Regions from separate parts of the Homo sapiens genome. Here region 1 is linked to region 2. The links are contacts of gene promoters, found by promoter capture Hi-C in human tissues and cell types (Jung and others, 2019). All regions are on one chromosome and are shown on one strand. Each heading gives the region's core, a stretch centred on a gene start or on the middle of the fragment in contact. The rest is flanking DNA. Distances are from core to core; before and after follow the strand shown. Region 1 overlaps ZNF521 (zinc finger protein 521). Region 2 holds the start of TAF4B (TATA-box binding protein associated factor 4b).

What was found. Contacts are between HindIII fragments. The study calls those that stand out against the background at their distance.
Region 1: a fragment that was not itself captured here is called in contact with the fragment with the promoter of TAF4B in region 2 in 1 of the 25 tissues and cell types used here (dorsolateral prefrontal cortex).

What each region holds. Positions count from the first base shown.
Region 1 is chr18:25,223,324-25,228,045 of GRCh38, reverse strand. It overlaps ZNF521 (zinc finger protein 521), which reads left to right. Exons shown (of 8, transcript NM_015461.3): 4 at 349-3,701. Among named protein-coding and RNA genes, the nearest start is that of ZNF521, 130 kb to the left of the region's middle. The HindIII fragment of the contact is 6,812 bases long and covers 1-4,722 here.
Region 2 is chr18:26,223,602-26,228,834 of GRCh38, reverse strand. It overlaps TAF4B (TATA-box binding protein associated factor 4b), which reads right to left and starts at 2,390. Exons shown (of 15, transcript NM_005640.3): 1 at 1,559-2,390. The coding sequence starts at 1,901. RefSeq lists a silencer at 1,751-1,910 and enhancers at 2,561-2,660, 2,691-2,760. The HindIII fragment of the contact is 12,633 bases long and covers 1-5,233 here.

The DNA.
Region 1 (4,722 bases), core at 1,469-3,968, 1.0 Mb after region 2:
TACAAAAGAAACATTAAATATATTAAAATCTGCATTTTAATAAAATTGTCAATGTGTAATATATACCTTGCTTCTAAGGAAGAATGATAAAAAGTAATAAAAGGGTAATTTAGACATAGAACTATTTAATATCCTCTTATATTTTACAACTCAACAAAAAGTAAATGCAGAATAACTGCTTTGGGCTCAGATTTGAAAATGTCTCACTCAAATATTCTCTCTTTTCATTTTGTTTTTTCTTGAAAGATTCAAGAGGGCCCAACTCTGCGTGCTGGTTGAAATGCTACGGTAAACTCACTCTTGAATCTCAACATGTCAGATGAAATTTGTCATTGCTTCTTGTTGCAGATGGAGTGGATGTTGAAGATGATCCGACTTGCTCTTGGCCAGCTTCCTCACCTTCTAGCAAGGATCAGACTTCCCCTAGCCATGGAGAAGGTTGCGATTTTGGAGAGGAAGAAGGTGGCCCTGGGCTTCCATACCCGTGTCAATTCTGTGACAAGTCGTTTAGCCGCCTCAGCTACCTAAAGCACCATGAGCAGAGTCACAGTGACAAACTGCCTTTCAAATGCACCTACTGCAGTAGGCTGTTCAAACACAAGCGCAGCCGAGATCGCCACATAAAACTCCACACCGGGGACAAGAAGTACCACTGCAGTGAATGTGATGCTGCGTTTTCCAGAAGTGATCACTTGAAGATCCACTTAAAGACTCACACGTCCAACAAGCCATATAAATGTGCCATTTGTCGCCGTGGGTTTCTGTCCTCTAGTTCCTTACACGGACACATGCAGGTTCATGAGAGGAACAAGGACGGCTCTCAGTCCGGTTCCAGGATGGAGGACTGGAAGATGAAGGACACTCAGAAGTGCAGTCAGTGTGAGGAAGGCTTTGACTTCCCGGAAGACCTCCAAAAACACATTGCAGAGTGCCACCCCGAATGCTCCCCAAATGAGGACCGAGCGGCCCTCCAGTGTGTCTACTGCCACGAGCTCTTCGTAGAGGAGACCTCCCTCATGAACCACATGGAGCAGGTGCATAGCGGGGAGAAGAAGAACTCATGCAGCATTTGTTCTGAGAGTTTCCACACAGTTGAGGAACTGTACAGCCACATGGACAGTCACCAGCAACCGGAGTCATGCAATCACAGCAACAGCCCTTCCCTGGTCACGGTGGGCTATACCTCCGTGTCCAGTACGACTCCAGATTCCAACCTCTCAGTGGACAGCTCAACCATGGTGGAAGCTGCCCCGCCAATCCCAAAGAGTCGAGGGAGGAAGAGGGCCGCTCAACAAACCCCTGACATGACTGGTCCCTCGAGTAAACAAGCAAAAGTTACCTACAGCTGTATTTACTGCAACAAACAATTATTTTCAAGTCTTGCAGTTCTGCAGATTCACCTGAAAACTATGCACTTAGATAAGCCAGAACAGGCCCATATTTGTCAGTATTGCTTGGAGGTCCTGCCCTCACTCTATAACCTAAATGAACATCTTAAGCAAGTGCATGAAGCTCAGGACCCAGGTCTGATTGTTTCTGCCATGCCTGCCATTGTCTACCAGTGTAACTTCTGTTCCGAAGTTGTCAACGACCTCAACACTCTTCAGGAACACATCCGATGTTCTCATGGATTTGCAAACCCTGCAGCTAAAGATAGTAATGCATTCTTTTGTCCCCATTGCTATATGGGGTTTCTCACTGACTCTTCCCTGGAAGAGCATATTAGACAGGTTCATTGTGACCTCAGTGGCTCCCGATTTGGGTCTCCAGTGCTTGGGACTCCCAAAGAACCAGTAGTAGAAGTCTATTCTTGTTCCTATTGTACAAATTCGCCAATATTCAACAGCGTTCTTAAACTGAACAAGCATATCAAAGAGAATCATAAAAACATTCCCTTGGCCCTGAATTATATCCACAATGGGAAGAAATCCAGGGCCTTAAGCCCCCTATCTCCTGTGGCCATAGAGCAGACATCTCTTAAGATGATGCAGGCAGTAGGAGGTGCACCTGCACGTCCCACTGGAGAATATATCTGTAATCAATGTGGTGCTAAGTACACATCCCTAGACAGCTTTCAGACTCACCTAAAAACTCATCTCGACACTGTGCTTCCAAAATTGACCTGTCCTCAGTGCAACAAGGAATTCCCCAACCAAGAATCCTTGCTGAAGCATGTTACCATTCACTTTATGATCACTTCAACGTATTACATCTGTGAGAGTTGTGACAAGCAATTCACATCAGTGGATGACCTTCAGAAACACCTGCTGGACATGCACACCTTTGTCTTCTTTCGCTGCACCCTCTGCCAGGAAGTTTTTGACTCAAAAGTCTCCATTCAGCTCCACTTGGCTGTGAAGCACAGTAACGAAAAGAAAGTCTATAGGTGCACATCTTGCAACTGGGACTTCCGCAACGAAACTGACTTGCAGCTCCATGTGAAACACAACCACCTGGAAAACCAAGGGAAAGTGCATAAGTGCATTTTCTGCGGTGAGTCCTTTGGCACCGAGGTGGAGCTGCAATGCCACATCACCACTCACAGTAAGAAGTACAACTGCAAGTTCTGTAGCAAAGCCTTCCATGCGATCATTTTGTTAGAAAAACACTTGCGAGAAAAACACTGTGTATTCGAAACCAAGACACCCAACTGTGGAACAAATGGAGCTTCCGAGCAAGTGCAGAAAGAGGAAGTGGAGCTGCAGACTTTGCTGACCAACAGCCAGGAGTCCCACAACAGTCACGATGGGAGCGAAGAAGACGTTGACACCTCTGAGCCTATGTACGGCTGCGACATTTGTGGGGCAGCCTACACTATGGAAACTTTGCTGCAGAATCACCAGCTCCGAGACCACAACATCAGACCTGGAGAAAGTGCCATCGTGAAAAAGAAAGCTGAGCTCATTAAAGGGAATTACAAGTGCAACGTGTGCTCTCGAACCTTCTTCTCCGAAAATGGCCTCCGGGAACATATGCAGACCCACCTAGGCCCTGTCAAACACTACATGTGCCCTATTTGCGGAGAGCGGTTTCCCTCCCTTTTAACTCTTACTGAACACAAAGTCACGCATAGTAAGAGTCTTGATACTGGAAACTGCCGGATTTGCAAGATGCCTCTCCAGAGTGAAGAGGAGTTTTTAGAGCATTGCCAAATGCACCCTGACTTGAGGAATTCCCTGACAGGCTTTCGCTGCGTGGTGTGCATGCAGACAGTGACCTCCACCTTGGAACTCAAAATCCATGGGACGTTCCACATGCAAAAGACAGGGAATGGGTCTGCAGTTCAGACCACAGGGCGGGGCCAGCACGTCCAAAAACTGTATAAGTGCGCATCTTGCCTCAAAGAATTCCGTTCCAAGCAAGATCTGGTGAAACTTGATATCAATGGCCTGCCATATGGTCTGTGTGCCGGCTGCGTGAATCTCAGTAAGAGCGCCAGCCCAGGCATTAACGTCCCTCCCGGCACGAATAGACCAGGCTTGGGCCAGAATGAGAATCTGAGTGCCATTGAGGGGAAAGGCAAGGTGGGGGGACTGAAGACACGCTGCTCTAGCTGCAACGTTAAGTTTGAGTCTGAAAGTGAACTCCAGAACCACATCCAAACCATCCACCGAGAGCTCGTGCCAGACAGCAACAGCACACAGTTGAAAACGCCCCAAGTATCACCAATGCCCAGAATCAGTCCCTCCCAGTCGGATGAGGTAACTCGCCTTTTTTAATGTTTGCTATTTAACCTCCTCAAGAAACGGTCCCTGCTTTATGTTTACACTCTCCACAGCTTTATTTATTGTCATGGGCCAAAAGATGCTTAGATTGAAATGCAGTGGGTTTCTTTTTCCCCCATAGCCATTAGCTAGCAATTACTTGCTTCTTGATAAGCAGCATTTTGGCTTGAATGGTGCAAAATAGGACTAATTCCAGTCTCCCTAGGATATTGTCTTCTCTATGACTGAAGAGACCAGCGCTCATGCCAACACTACTGAGATCTGGAATCTCAGCATAGCTTCACCGTGAGTTGAAATCCCCAGCTATGACTTGTGTGTATGGCAGAGAGATAATGACTCAAAAGTAAGATGCTATGAGCCACCATGCTGGCTTAGAGTAAATTAAAAAGAATATATATATTTGGGGATAACAAATTGGGTAGGGGTGGCTTTTTAATGCCATGTTGTCAACACTCACTGTTTTTCTTTGTCTTCTGGGTAGAGAGGAAAATACTTCCTCACAACAGGATTTTTAAAAATCCCCTACATTTATTAAGCACCACATGCCCATTATTCTGTTTAAAGACACTATCCCTGAGTTTGAGGCCTACTCTCTGGGTTTCAAAATCAATGTGTGCGTTTTTTTTTTTCTCCTTAGTTTCAGAGTAGTTTTCTGCTTTCTTTGCCGTGACGAGTACAAAAAACAAGTTCATTTATAATGAAATCATTTCATAAGTCATCATTTCTTAGTAGCTGAGCAGAGGATGGCTCATTTTAATATTTCTTTATGCTTTATCACCTGGTTTCTAAAAGCTCTTTCCACTTCCCTACCTGCCCCTATCTGGAGATCCATCCAAATGAAAACCCCAGGGAGATCCTTCTCCCTTCAGTTTGGGGTTACTGCATTTTCCTTATCTTGTCTCTGCACTCACACCCTGGCGGAGGCCCCCCTGTGGCTCCCTGCAGATAGCCATCAGTCAGCTGGCAGGGGCGGGCTGAGAAGACTGAGACAGAGCCT
Region 2 (5,233 bases), core at 1,141-3,640:
TCACTCTCACTTACCAGCAAATTTTCACTCTTGACAGTTCTTTCTTTGGGGGGTTGGGGAGGGATGGGGAGGAACAGAGTCTCACTCTGTTGCCTGGGCTGGAGTGCAGTGGCAAGATATCTTGGCTTACTGCAACCTCCACCTCCCGGGTTCAAGCGATTCTCGTGCCTTAGCCTCTCAGACAGTTCTTTCTTAATACTTTTTTTTTTTGACTATTTATAAACAAACTTCAGTGACTAGACAGGATTTACAGTTTAACAAATTAGGGGGTAATTTCATTCTAACACATTCAGAACTACTTTATAAACATATATGCAGAATAACAACTCAGAATAACAATTTAGAACTGCCAAATAATGTATTCGGTGCTGCACACTGCCGTAACAGTGCCTTAACAATTTTACATACCTTGTATACCATATAAAACTGAAACAGAACTTCATAAAAAGTGAAATCTATCCACAACGTGTATGACTAACTACAACATTAGATACAAAAAGGGTCCCTGTCATTTTATTAGGGGATATAGAATCTTTTGAATCAATGCTTCCCCTTTTTTACCATCTTTGCAGTTCAGAGTTCCAATTACTGCTAAACAAAATTAACAGAAAGCAAACTCCAAGAGACTTTCAGTAAAGAAAGGCTGAACACCCCAAAATCATTCAGCATATTTACAATATGTAAATTATCACAAAGCAAAACCTTTATACAAACCATGAAATACAGCCCAATAGAGTAAAAAGCCCTAGGATAGAAAGTAGTGAAAGACTCATTAACAGTAGCGTTGACACATGGCTTCAATTGCAACTGTAACAATTGCATGACTGATCTGTTTGTCAACTGTGGCACGTGTTCCCAGTCAGGGGTTCTGCTAATTGAAAGTTAGAATCATAAGACATTTAAAGATTGTGCAGGAACAGCATTATTCGTACTTGGTACTAGAAAGCAGTAAACCGATTCTGACTTGGTTAAATTTAAAAATCTCTTTCAGTTGTAATACACAAGAACTTCACTGTTAGGCCGTACGCGGTGGCTCACGCCTGTAATCCCAGCACTTTGGGAGGCCGAGGCGGGAGGATCGATTGGGCCCAGGAGTTCGACGTCGGTGAGCCATGATCGTGTCACTGCACTCCAGACTGGGCGACAGAGCGAAACCATACCTCATTCGTTCATTCATTCATTCATAATTAATAAAATAAGTACAACGCACTTCTACATAATCTAAGCGTATGGAAATCCACGGTATAAACCGGTCCATCCTCCACATGGAAATTAACTTCGGCTATATTATCTCCTCCACCTAAGAGCCAGTGCCTGAAAGCCCCCCCGAATACGCTGATGTAGCTTTTTACTGTATCACTTAGGTGAAAAGATTCTTTCCTTAAATATGAAAAGAAAAACTATGTAGTAATGACACAAAAAGAATATGTTAACTGTAAAGTCAAGATTATGAAATGTTCCCGTGGCTCAGTTTTTTTAGGAGCAATCTGGAGCTGCGAATTTTCCCGTCGCCGCCAGCTGGACCGACAGACAAGGCTGGAAAGGGTTATCAACATACCTGGAGGAAGCTGCAAATTAGCAGGAAACTGGATTGTCGTGGTGTTGGGGGCTTTCACGGCGACTATCTGAGGAGCAGGCAGCCTAGGGCCGCTGCTGACTTTAGGAGGGGCGCTGACCGGAGCCACTTTGGTCACCAGGGTCCCCACGGGGGACCGCAGGGGCTGGGACGCCGTGGGCTCCACGCAGACGCTGACAGGAGCCTTAGTCACGGCGCCCAGGGCCACCGGAGTGCTCTCCACCCGCACCGGCAGCGCCCCGGCCGGGGCCATGGTCACGGTCCCCGAGGCGCTCACAGCAGCCGGGGGAGCGGCGCCGGCGGGTTCGGTGAGGCCGGCGGGCATCCCCCAGGGGCTCAGCGGCAGCTTTGGCGCTGCGGTTCCGGGAGCAGAGGTGAGGGGAGGCTTGGCGCGCGGCAGCCGACTCCGGTGCGGTTCGGGTTCCACAGCATCGCTGGGGAGAGGCGCGGGGGCCGCAGCAGCGAAGTCAGTGACGGGCGCCCGCTGCACGGCAGGACACGCGCGTCCCGGACCTTCCTCTCGTCCGCGCGAGCCTGGGCTGCCCCCGGAGCGACACCCGCCCGACCTCTCGCAGCTTCCTCAGCGGCGCTCACACGTGCGCTGCCTCAGCCCTGCGCCTCAGGCTCGGGTCCCGCTGCGGGGGAGCCTGGACTTGCGGCTCCCGGAAGGTCGTCGCTCACACCTCGAGCCTAACTGCGCAGCTGCTCCCCCGCCAGAAATTTCAAAACTACGAACCCCGAGTGCCCACAGCCCCCTACGCGCGATTGGCACGGCCCCGCCGCGCGGCCACGCCAGCCATGTTTATATAGCCACGCGGAGACCTCGCGCACGCGCCCAGGCCGCCGCCACCGCCCCGGGTTTCCCCGGGATCCGGCCGCGTGATTGGCCAAGGAGCGGAGCCGCGCCCGTGACGTCACTGGGGACGGCTCCAGGGAGCGTTAAAATCTTCCCCAGAATCGCCAGCAAGGAGGGGCGATGCCAGAAACCTATCACGTGGGAGGGGCAAGCTGCACTTGGAAAACTGCGGCATCCGTGTTCCTCTCCTTGTGTCCCCTGTAGTGTGTTCCTCGAAAAGCCAGCACTAGACTATCTCCAGGATTCTATTTTTTAAGGAGAAAATGGGGAGGACTGATTTCCGAGAAGAGTGACTCAATAAGAATTCAATCACGCATTTTCAGTGTTTTTCTCTGCTGTCTTCACACTGAAGCGTTGCTAAAATTCGCAGTTAGAATTGACATTGTAAAAATTAAAATGGCGTATAGTTTTATAGTCTGTGAGATGTGCCTATTTTCATATTTTAGAGTTAAACTGCCTAAAATCTTAAATGGAAAATCGTTTCTTCTTTGGTGCTGCTATAGGTGTCTCTATCACCTCTAAACATTAAAATTGTATGTCTGTCTTCTGAAAAACTTAATGCCTTTTGATATCTATATAATTAGATTCTAGCACTTAGATATTAAGCGTGATCCTAGATATTATCTGGATAAATAAAAGGTGTTGAGTGAATCGATATGAAAAAACTTGCCTGTTTGTAATGCAGTCAGAGAAGATGCCTTAATTTCAAGCTAAAGTCATTATATTGTATGTTTGTAGGAACCAACACTGCACTGAAAGGCGATTTTACAAGTAGGCAGATGCTATGATCTGAATGTTGTGGTGTTTTGTTTTGTTTTGTTTTGTTTTGTTTTGTTTTGGAAACAGGATCTAACTCTGTCACCCAGGCTGGAGTGCAGTGGCACCATTGGCTCATTGCAGCCTCCACCTCCTGGGCTCAAGTGATCATCCTACCCTCCTACCTCAGATTCCCGAGTAGCTGGAACCACAGGGGAGCGGCACTATGCCTAGCAAAAACGGGATCTCGTTATATTGTCCAGGCTGGTCTCCAATTCCTGAGCTCCCGCCTGGGCCTCCCAAAGTGCTAGGATTATACCCCCAACTGAGTGTTAAAATGCTAAAGCTGGAGTTGATAATATTAGAAGGTTGGGCCTTTGAAAGGTGATTAGATCATAAGGGTGGAGCCCTCATGAATGGGATTCCATTCAGGACAAATCATGTTAAAGTGATGAATATGTTAACTTGATTTAATTATTTCACGACACATACAAATGTAACATGATACCTCATAAATACATACAATTATTATTTGTTAGTTAAATACATTAAATAAATAATTTTTTTAAAAAAAGAAACCTCAGAAAGATCCCTCACCCCTTCCAGCAAGTGAGGTTATGGTAAAAAGACTGCTGTCTAGAAAGTAGACTCTCATCAGATACCACATCTGCCTTGATCTTGAACTTCCCAACCTCTGGAATTATGGGACATGAATTTCTCTTTTTATAAGCTACCCAGTTTATGATATTTCATTATAGAAGCCCGAGTGGACTAAAATAGCAGGCAACCTGATGGTTACAGCTCCTGCTTTTCCCCCTCTCTGTAAACGTGTGCCGGCACGTTTAGATAAGATCTACTCACAAGATCTAGTAAAGTCCACACACTTACTACCTTTACTGTCTCTCACTTCTTGACCAGTCTAAATCCATCTCATGACCTAAACCAATCACCCTCCCTTTCTATGGTGAATTCCCTGATCACTTACCTTCTAGCAAATGCCTCAAAGTGGAGTTGGGGAGAGAAAAACTCAATTTATTGAGCACCTCCTGTGTGCTGGTCACCAAGAGATGCATTTCCTTTTTCTAACTGCTTCATTTTACAAACTTAAAAACTGCAGTTAAAAGAGTAATGTTTCCAAGAAGCTGGAATTCAAACTCATCAGTATGATGCCAAAGTACATCTCTTTCCATTACTCCAAAACGTCTGATTAATCATGTATCCCACAGTGCCCTTGGCAAAATGCCTTGAGCATAAAAGGCATTTAATAAATACTTGCTAAGGTAATGAATTGAATGAAGCTATGCAACATTTTCAGTGAAGCAAAATGGTGTAGTGTATTTGAATCTTAGATATGTTCTTCACTAACTGGCCAAATTATCCCCGATTTTTTTCCCTCCATATAGTATGTTTCAATAGATACTTGGGTACGGAAGCATCAAAGTTTGTTTATAGAACTCTCCCTTTCTAAATTTCCACTAGACCCCCACCATCAATTCACACACTTTGTTTAGATAGGCAATTAACCTCCACCATCAAATTACAAAGAGACTTGGTTGGGGAACTATATTTTTTCATAAAGTTAACCTCATGCATTTCCCTCTCTCTCTCTCTCTCTGGTGTATGTGTGTGTGTGTGTGTGTGTGTGTGTGTGTGTGTGTTTCGGCAGGGCAGGGCTGGGTGGGGGTGAGGTCGTGCAAGGGAGAACAGGGTATCCCTGTCTCTGTCACCCAGAGTAGTTCAGTGAGGCCATCATGGCTCACTTGCAGCTTCAACCTCCTGGGCTCAAGAAATCCTTTCACCTTAGCCTCCCAAGTAGCTGGGGACCACAGGCTGTACCACCATGCCTGGCTAATTTTGTTTGTTTGCTTGTTTGTTTGTTTTGCAAAGACAACGGTCTAACTGTTAGGTTGGTGCAAAAGTAATTTCGGCAATATGTTGCCAAGGCTGATTTCAAACTCTTGGACTCAAGTGATCCTCCTGTCTCAGACTCCCAAAGTGCTGGGATTACAGGCGTGAGCCACCCATTTTTCTTATAATTGTTTATA